2 separate regions of the Homo sapiens genome follow, and region 1 is linked to region 2. Evidence: promoter capture Hi-C in human tissues and cell types (Jung and others, 2019). All regions are on one chromosome and are shown on one strand. The core of a region is centred on a gene start or on the middle of the fragment in contact, and the rest is flanking DNA. Distances in the headings are between cores, read along the strand shown. Region 1 overlaps LOC105374870 (a long non-coding RNA gene). Region 2 holds the start of FOXF2 (forkhead box F2).

Region 1 (4,699 bases), core at 1,351-3,850, 1.2 Mb after region 2:
TCCAAAAAAATTAAAGTCAGCATATTGAAATATCATAAATAAACCAAAGTGAAACTAACTCCCCAAGTTAAATAAATGGATTCTCTTTTGTGTCTCAATTTCTTCAACATCAAACCTTTTTTCATTTTAGTGAAGTATATTCTTCCAGAAATTAATATTGATTAACGTTAATATGTTAATATAATGTATATAGTAAGAACTCCCTCTCCCCTTACTAAGAAACTTCCCAACTACAATTTTCTCTTCAAGATTCTTCATGGTGCACATATCGTTTTAACATGCCACTTCCGTGTGTGTTCAAATCCTTTGTGGGACGATTTTCTTGTCCTTTTCAATTCTCCCTTCCCAGATTTGGTCTCAGGCTTCAACAGCTCCTGTGTTCTTGGATTTCAATGTCGCCAGTGATCATTAAGATCTGTTTGGCTCATGTGCTTGTGGGCCAAGTGATCCATTTTATAGGAAGAACAATGAGGAGGAGCGAGACAGTCAGCAAGAAAGTGGATTTACTGAAACAACACATGGGGCGTGGTGGATCTTTTGTTTGTTTTGGAAGGTTTTGCTTTGTTTTTTGGTGAACTCATTTCGAATTCAGCAAGAGGTATAATCTTTAACTTTCAGCTACAAACAAAACACCTGTCTCATTACCAGCCTGGGTAGGTGTGGAACACAAATGGTTTTTCATTTCTGTGAAGTATTCTTCGAGCTTGTATAGCCAAGAAGGCTTAACACTGTGCTGTTTTCTATTGGGCTTTCTGTGGGAGAAAAAAATTTGATGAAAAGAAAAGAATAGGCCGGGCGCAGTGGCTCACCCCTGTAATCCCAGCACTTTGGGAGGCCGAGGAGGATGGATCACTTGAGGTCAAGAGTTGGGGACCAGCCTGACCAACATGGTGAAACCCCGTCTCTACTAAAAATACAAAAATTAGCTGGACGTGGTGGCAGGTGCCTGTAATCCCAGCTACTCGGGAGGCTGAAGCAGGAGAATCGCTTGAACCCGGGAGGCGGAGCTTGCAGTGAGCCAAGATCGTGCCACTACACTCCAGCCTGGGTAACAAAGCGAGACTCCGTCTCAAAAAAAAAAATTGCATTTTGCACTTAGCAATATATCATTGATTTTTTAATATGGTGAAATATCATGTACAGCAAACTTTCATGGCTGCATGTTTCCTCCATTTTATGGAAGTACCCTAATACATTCAGCCAATCCCCTATTTGGGGACTTTCAGATTGTGTTGAATTATTAACTAATATTTAAGCAATACTTAAATAAATATTCTCTACATATATTTTAGGTGCATATGCAATTTTTTGCACAGGATTATAATTCTTCCAAGCAGAAGTGATAAGTGCTCAAAAGTTTTAAGATTTGTGACACCAATCACCAAGTTACCCACCACAAGATCTGATTATCATTTACATTTCTCCCATTAGTGACTGAGAAAATCCACGGTCCCCCAGCATGTCCAACAGGGACAACAGGGGTGTGCATTTGCGTTTATTAATATTTGGGCAAAAATGCCATTTCACTTTTGTTCTGTGCCAAGATCCTGGTTTTTGCTTGATCTTTCAGAGTCCTGAAGTCATGTGAAAGCAGACAAAAGTTAAACAGGCTGCAGCCACTAAGGAGCTCTCCTCCTCCTTTAGGATCAGAGTGATGCGGGCTCAGGGCTTCTGCCTTTTCTGTTGTTAGCAGACTTTCTCTGAAGCCCCAGGGGACTCGAGGTACAGTAGTAATGGGGGGATGGCTACAGGGTAAAGAAATTACCAGGAAAGAAAAAATGGAAATAGTAATTTGGGAAGATGGGCCAAGACTGGGCATGAGGTTTCTGGGTACCCAGCATGGCTCCAGCAAGAGAGGGAGCGGGGGGTGCTGGAGACTGTGGACAGAGCAATCCGGCCTTTGAGTCAGCAAAGTCCTGGGTGGGGAGGGCTAGAGAGCCTGATGTGGCTAAAAACAAGCTTCTGCCAACAGGTGAAATGGGCACTAAAGGAGAAATAAATTTCAGTTATTGAATATCAAAAGGGTTCCAGTTATTGTCCACACAGATTTGAGGTCCGAAATACAAAACTCCTACGTGATGGTAACCGTTCTTTTTAGAACCTCCTTCTCTCCATTACTGCCCCAGATAAAACTCCCCCTAGACATGAGCTTCCAGGGCCATGGAGAGAAGGCAGTAGGGTTGGGAAGGACGCAGGTTGTGGAACATTCCATGAGGATGTTCTTTCCATATTTATTTTTACTGCTTGGCCTTCTAGACCCAAATTCTCTAATTTTATCTTGTCAGTCTCTGTGAGTAAAAAATTCCACCTCTTCTCTCTCTGCTCTCCCCAGAGAGAAGTTTCTCTCTGTGAAAGAATTAACCACCCTGCCCCCAACAGTCATCAGTGTGTGGGTGACACCTCGTCCTGGATGAATCTTTTCAAGATAAGTTTCTTTTCTGCTTCATGGTATGTGAAAAAGTGGAAAATGAGGTGGAGAGAGAGAGACAGAGAGAGCAAGAACAAAAGAGAAAGTGAAAGAGAGACGGGGAGAGAGCAAGCACAAGAACAAAAGCAAGAGTGAGAGACAGATGGGGGGAGGGAAGAGGCAGAGGGAGAGGGAGAGGAAGAGGGAGAGGGAGCAGGACAGCTAGAGGGAAGTCAGCTCATCCTAGGAAGTTTCCAAACTTTTTCCTTTCTCTCCCTCCCCTCTGTTTTCCTTTTAGTTTGTCCCTTTACCTCCCCCTCCCCTTCCCTCCTCTCCCTCTCTCTCTTCTTTCTTCTCTTTCTCTCCTTCTTCCTTCCTTCCTTCCTTCCTTCCTTTCTTTCTTTCTTTCTTTCTTTCTTTTTCTTTCTCTCTCTCTCTCTCTTTCTTTCTTCCTCTCCTTTCTCTTCTTCTTTTCTTACTTTTCATTTTGATTGGGAAAATATTTACTTCACTCATCAAAACTTTCATCCTTTTGGAAGAAATCCTGACTCACAGTTCTAGGCCTATCTGGGCTCACTGAGGAAAGGACTGGGGGCATGGGATGAAATAGAGACTTCTTATGAAGAGGATTTCTGAGGAGGGATTTGAGTACAACTCACTGAACTTGGGAAAGGATAAAGATCACCCTCAAGGCTGGGCTCGGTGGCTCTTGCCTGTAATCCCAGCACTTCGGGAGGCCAAGGTGGGCGGATCACCTGAGGTTGGGAGTTTGAGACCAGCCTGGCCAACATGGTGAAACCCCATCTCCACTAAAAATACAAAAATTAGCTGGGTGTGGTGGTATGTGCCTGTAATTCCAGCTACTTGGGAGGCTAAGGCAGGAGAATTACTTGAACCCGGGTGGCAGAGGTTGCAGTGAGCTGAGATCTCACCACTGCACTCCAGCCTAGGTGACAGAGCGAGACTCCATCTTAATTAAAATAAAAAGAGAGAGAGAGAAAAAGAAAAAGATTGCCCTAGATGATTGACAGCCCCTCAGGAGGCCTCTTTCATCTCACAAGTTTCCCTCCACCCAAGGCACTTTCCCCTCTCACCTGCTTCTATCCAGGCATCATCCAGGGAAGTGACTTCAGCTTCAGAGGAACAGGAAGGGCAGGGGAGAGGAGATGACTACGGTGCTTGGTTCCAAGCAGCAAACCCCAGGCATCTGGAAGGGAGGCTGTTGTGGAGGGGCTGTTCTTGTTTACCAGCAGAGGGAGAGGTACCACCTTCACCCCCATGCACCTTTGCTTCCCTCAGTCTCTACACATCTCTCTGTCCCTGCAACCTAGAGGCCCCATAGGCAACCCTCCAATTTGTCACAGGCTCTTTCTCCTGATCACAGTAGTTAATAAAGATTCCTGGGCCAAAAGTCAGAAAGAACAAAGGCATCTTCTCCAAAGCTGATAGTGAGACCTCAGGAGAACCAGCCCAGCAGTGACCTATTTATTGCACCTAGTAAAGCTTGTATCCTGAGCTCAGCCCTTCCCAGGACTTTCTGTTAGGGCAGCACAAGGCATGGACTCAATCCTATAGGTCAGCATCCAGATCCCCAGTCCTCTGCTGTGCGTCTTTGGAAAGTTTCTTACCCTCTGAGCCTCAGACCCTGCATATGAGAAAGCCTGGCAAGGAGCAGCATTTGCTCAGGCTCAGTGACATTCGCCGTGACTGTCTCAAAAAGTGACAATTCCGAGACGGAATTTTGCTCTGTCACTCAGGCTGGAGTGCAGTGGCGTGATCTCCACGCACTGCAACCTCTGCCTCCTGGGTTCAAGCAATTCTCCTGCCTCAGCCTCCCAAGTAGCTGGGATTACAGGCACACGCCACCGCACCCAGCTAATTTTTGTATTTTTTTAGTAGAGATGGGGTTTCACCATGTTGGCTAGGCTGGTCTCGAATTCCTGACCTCATGATCTGCCCACCTCGGCCTCCCAAGGTGCTGGGATTACAGGCATGAGCCACCTCACCTGGCCAAAGTGACAACTCTTAAAACAAGACAATGTTTTCGGCCTGGTGTGGTGGCTCACGCCTGTCATCCCAGCACTTTGGAGGCTGATGTGGGCAGATCACGAGGTTAGGTGTTCAAGACCAGCATGGCCAATATAGTGAAACCCCTTGTCTACTAAAAATACAAAAATTAGCCAGGCATGGTGGCATGCACCTGTAATCCCAGCTACTCAGGAGGCTGAGGCAGCAGAATTGCTTGAACCCGGGAGGGAGAGGTTGCAGTAAGCCGAGATTACAATACTGCAC
Region 2 (5,131 bases), core at 1,529-4,028:
TGAACAAGACTCTGTTCTCAGTGGGTTAAGTCAGGCTAAAATCCTCTCCGGTGTGGTCCTGCCGAGACTGTCTTTGTTTGGTTAACCTCTGAGACCCACATTTAAAAGGCCTATTTGGGAAATTTCACCGTCCAGGGAACCAACATCTTTTGCCCATTTCTGGGCTTTCCTTCTCCCCGGGTGCTCCCGCTGCACACCGGCTCAGGAACACATAAAGCATGCATCACCCTCCAAGCCACTGTCTCATTGCTGTGGGAGGCCAGTGTGAGAGAGTAGCTTGGGGCCTTGCCTTTGACTGGCAGGCCCATGGGATTTTAATCTGCAGCCCTAGGTGCTCCGAGCGAGGGGTTAATGTAAGGGTTTATCTCTGTTCTTCACATTAACCTGGTCAAATATTCAAATTCCCTCTTCCATCCCTACCGTCCCCTCCCACCTTTCACCGCCTTCAGCAAGTCAATAATTTTTCATAATCTGCAACCAGAACAATGTAAACCAGCCACACTACAAGTGGCATCCACAGGGCAGGCGCATTTCTCAGGGGAGTCCTAGCAGGGTCCTTCAGGTCCTGCCACCCAGGACCTGTATCATCAATGTGGGTCCATTGTTGGGCGGGGGGGGAGGCAGGGAAGGGGAGGAGTCTCCAACAGTTTGGTGACCCCCTCCACTGGCAAATGTCCCTTTAGTGAAAGATCCTGGGATCCAGCTCTGTCCCTCCCACCCCCTCCTCTTAACACTTGCCCAGCTGCAAACATCTCGCTGCAGACACCCCAACATACAGAACATATCTGATTCTGACATTTACTTCGGGACAGAAGTACAGCAAAATGAACGCAAGGAAAAAAAGGGACAAAAGGAACTAGACACAGCTTCCTGACCAAGTTCCCCAAAGGCCAGATGCCTTCTCTCCAAGCTAAGTGAGACTCTGAACGGGAGACCTGCAGTCTCCTGCACAGGGATCCCCAAAGAGCCCAGGAAGGCAGGGGACTTTACACCACGCTCACAGCAGCCAGACAATTCTGAAGCTTCGGCTGCTGGCCAGGGATACTGGGAGGACAGTAAGACCCTGATCCCTGCTCCCACGAATAAGATGCCGGCTTTCCCCAGCATCTGCTTTTCCCAGTGCCCTCAGACCTCCTAGCTTCGGGGTCCCTGTTTGTGGGAGTGGCAGTGGCCGCCAGCCCTGGAGGCCTAGAAGCGGTGCGCCCAGCTGGCTGGGCTGGAGCGTGCTGCGTTACCTGAGAGGTCCTCGCGAGCGTTCTGGTGCAAGTAGCTCTGCTCCAGCGAGTAGGAGGACATGCTGGAGTGCAGGCCTGCCGAGGCGGCGGGGTTGCTGCTGGGCGTCAGGGCAGGCGGCTGCTTGAGGTAAGGCGAGGCGCCAGGCGAGCTCCAGTGCGCCGCAGGGCTCGTGTAGGGCGAGTGGCATTCGATGGCGCTCGCCATGGCCGGGGACGAGGGTACCGGGCTGCTGCTGCTGTCCGGCCCGTAGTCGCCGCCGCCGCCGCCCCCGGCCGCACCGACGCCCCCGGGTCCCGCGGGCACCGGGCAGCTGGCCATGTAGGTGGAACCCGGGTTGGGCGACATGTGCGGGACGTGGTGGTGGTGGTGGTGGTGAGGGTGCGCGTGGCTGGGGGCGCCCGCGCCGGCGTCGTAGCCCGCGGGCATCATGTCGAGGCCGCCGTAGCCGCCCTGGCTGTGGCAGCCGAGCGGCGCCGACGGGGGCGCCTGGAAGTCGAAGCCCTGGGGCAGCAGCGACGCCCCGAAGCCCAAGCCGCTCACCACGCGGTGGTACATGGGCTTGAGCGCCTGGCACTTCCGCCTGAAGCCGCGCGGCCGGCGGCGGAACGAGCCCTCCTCGAACATGAACTCGCTGGCCGGGTCGATGGTCCAGTAGTGGCCCTTGCCGGGCCGCCCGAGGCCCTTAGGCAGCTTGATGAAGCACTCGTTGAGCGAGAGATTGTGGCGCACCGAGTTCTTCCAGCCCTGGTAGGCGCCGCGGAAGAAGGGGAAGCGCGCCTGCAGGAACTGGTAGATCTCGCTGAGCGTCAGGCGCTTGCTGGGCGAGCTCTGGATGGCCATGACGATGAGCGCGATGTACGAGTAGGGCGGCTTCTCGGGCCGCCGCAGCCCCGAGCTCGCCTTCTTGGCGCCCCCGCTCCCGGCGCCCGCGCCGCCGCCGCCCGCGCTCTTGCAGGCAGCCGAGGGGGCGCTGGCCGAATTGGAGGAGGACGAGGACGAGGCGCAGGAGGCGGAGGACGACGACGAGGAGGAGGAGGTGGTCTCCGGGGCGGCGGCGGCGGCGGCGGCGGCGGCGGGCGGCGGGCTCATCAGGGCGGCCTGGAGCGCGCCGGGGACCGGGCTGCACGCGCGGCGGAGCGGGGCCGGCGGCGGCCCGCCCTCGGTGGTCATCTGGGACCCGGGAGCGAGGCCGGGCCGCGAGGGCGGGCCCCGGGCGGGAAGCGGAGGCGCCGGAGCGGGGTCGGCCCAGAAGCCCTGCGAGCGCCCTAGCCCGCCGCCCGGGCTGCAGCCGTGGCCACTCCGGGCCAGCGCTTCGGCGTCGCCTCCCTCAGCTCCTCTGGGGCTTCTGGCGGCGGCGGCGGCGGCGGGCGGGAGGCAACGCCCGGCGCATCCCTCCCCGAGCCGCGGGCCCTGCCTTGCGCAACGGCCTCCCAGGCCGCGGGGCCGAGCGGCCGGCGCCGGGCGACTGCGCCCGCGAGTGGGACCGCGGCCTGGACCCCGGGGACGAGCCCGACGTCTCCCTTCAGGAGCGCTCCTCGCTCTGTCTCTCGGACTTCCTCCCTCCCTCGCCCTCCCCGGCCGCCCTCCTCGCTCCCTCCCTCCCTCCCTCCCCCCCCACCCCGCCCTGCCCCCTCCTCGCTCCGCGCCGCCGCGCTCACTCCTCCCCCTCCCGACCTGGCGGCCGCCTCCCTCTCTTATCTCGCTCCCCGCTCTCCAGGGTCTCCTCGCTCTTCATTCCTCTCGCGGCCTCCTCCCCTTTCCCTCACTCACCCTCTTTCCAATTGAGGGATCACAGACTCACTCCGGTTCTGCCAGGGGGACGACCCCCACCCCTCGCAAAACTCGACCACCTCTGACTTCATGAAATATTCTTTCTGTTTGCCCCCCGCAGCAAGCCCCGCGTCCCATCCCAGGACCCAGCCCCGCCCCTCCGCGCCCCCTTCCTCCTCCTGGCCCGCCGGGCCGAGTGGTGCTGCTGCGGGTGCGGCTGCTCGGAGCCTCCCTGGCCGCCCTCCCCAGGGCCGATACTGACTCCATCTGTCAACTTCGTTTAGACTTTGCCGCCCTCAGCCACACGCCGGGGTGCCAGACGCCCAAAGGTAACGTGCCAATCCTCTCTCTTTCTGGCAGGGCCTGCAGGCTCCCCGACAATTGTTAGGGCGACTGGGGGCCGCCGCAGGGTTGCGGGCCGCTGGCGATCGTGGACGTTTTCGGAACTTTGAGCAGAGGGATTTACACTGAGAAACCTAGGCCAAGTTTCAAAGACTCTGGAAACCTGGATCTCATGGGACTTAGGGTTGCATTTGCTTCCACTTCTTCCCCCCACCCCCGCACCCCAGTTAGTGTTCTGTAAGAAAAAAGTGCAAAAGAAAAAGGAAGGAAGGAAGAAAAGAAAGAAAGAGAAAGAAAAAGAAAGACCCTGAGATAAGCGAGATGGCTATATTTATAGTCAGTCCTGAAGGGGTGTGCAGCTGTCACTAGGTTTACATCCTCCGTCTTAACATTGCCCACCCAAAACTGTGCCAGGTCTCAGCTAACTCCTGTCCGAGAACACTTCTCCCCAGTTGTGGCTAATTCCTCCCTAAGTAAGAGTCAGGCTCTGAGAGAGATGTGCCCTCGGGAGCAATCACTTCCAATGAGACCCGACAGTTAGTTATTGGATTACACGTGCAGGGAAATGTAGTCCGACCAGGGATAGGAGCTGGGAGAGGGAGGAGGAGAGCAGGAGGCCGGAGCTGGCGGGGCCTCCCAAGGGCTGAAGGGGGAGGCCCAGAAAGAAGGTGCTGCAGACCAGCGGACCAAACAGGAGGTAGAGCTGGGCACCCCGCTGCGTCTAGGCTGAAAGGACCGAGGTGCACGGGTGTGCCTGCTGGGGAGCCTGGGGAGTTGCAGGAGGCAGGAGAAAGGGAGGTTGTGCAGTAATCAGGAGGAAGACACCAGGCAAAGAGCCTTCACAGCCGCACAGCCTAGGCAGGCCCCCTGGGGCGGCAGGAGCCCTGTGTGCCCCTGGAGTGCCGGGGGACTGCTCCTGGCTGAGTGTGCTGGTGGGGCTGTAGATGCAGAGAGGGCGGGTGGGGAGGGGAGGGGTATGTGGGAGGGGGGTGGGCCGGGGCTGGCCCCAGACAGTGACCTGAGGTTGAGTGGAAGCAGGCTTTTTCCATCAAACCCTGCCTGGATACCACACACAGAGACCGAGTGTCAGTTTACTGCCCTGAGCCGGCTCCTTCTCCCTAAGCTCCACAGTAATTAGACAAAGAAAACCTAAATTAGCTGAACAGGCGTCGACAGCTTCCTCCAGAGCACCCCTGGTACCTACATGGGAATGTGTCCGAAAATGGCTTGATTGTAGCCGAGAGTCAGCTAAGAAAACACCGCCAAACCGAACTCAGTTTACCACTCATTTCCAATAGAAAAAAGAAACAAGTCGCTCTTTTCCGGGTGGGATGTTTTGATTGGGTTGGGGTAGGGCTTCGCAGTTGTTTCCACTTTCTAAGAATTTCTGACTGACTGCTGAGCGTTTTTGGGGGGTGCGTCCCCATATATTTCATGGTATTTTTTTCTCTTGCCCTCATTTGTCATTTTGTGTGGAATAACTTAAAAATACATAACTAAATATGAAAGTAAATATAATGTGTTCACTAAACCAATGCTCTAAGTGCCTAAAATATAATTATTTTCATAAAATAGAAGCTGGAGTGGGGAGGACAGATAGGATCTTAAAGGAGCTCTACTGACATAGAGTTCAGTGTGTGTGTGTGTGTGTGTGTGTGTGTGTGTGTGCTTTAAATGGAAAGAGCCCAGGGGAGAAGCTTGTGGGGGAAAAGGACAATTATCTCATTTGTAGGTGGGGGCGGTGGGCAACGGGCTTTGGAAACATTCAGTACTCATTGTCACT

What was found. The method cuts DNA at HindIII sites, captures the fragments that hold promoters and counts their contacts. A contact is called where the count stands out against the background at its distance.
Region 1: a contact is called between a fragment that was not itself captured here and the fragment with the promoter of FOXF2 in region 2, in 1 of the 25 tissues and cell types used here (dorsolateral prefrontal cortex).

The regions. Positions count from the first base shown.
Region 1 is chr6:233,918-238,616 of GRCh38, reverse strand. It overlaps LOC105374870 (a long non-coding RNA gene), which reads right to left. Exons shown (of 3, transcript XR_926357.3): 2 at 3,502-3,614; 3 at 1,483-1,984. Among named protein-coding and RNA genes, the nearest start is that of LINC03066, 31 kb to the right of the region's middle. RefSeq lists an enhancer at 2,494-2,583. The HindIII fragment of the contact is 4,723 bases long and covers 239-4,699 here.
Region 2 is chr6:1,387,223-1,392,353 of GRCh38, reverse strand. It overlaps FOXF2 (forkhead box F2), which reads right to left and starts at 2,778. Exons shown (of 2, transcript NM_001452.2): 1 at 1,236-2,778. The coding sequence starts at 2,406. FOXF2-DT (FOXF2 divergent transcript) reads left to right here and starts at 2,893. Exons shown (of 3, transcript NR_187218.1): 1 at 2,893-3,335. MIR6720 (microRNA 6720) reads left to right here and starts at 1,943; the gene lies at 1,943-2,040. RefSeq lists an enhancer at 731-1,596. The HindIII fragment of the contact is 13,823 bases long and covers 1-5,131 here.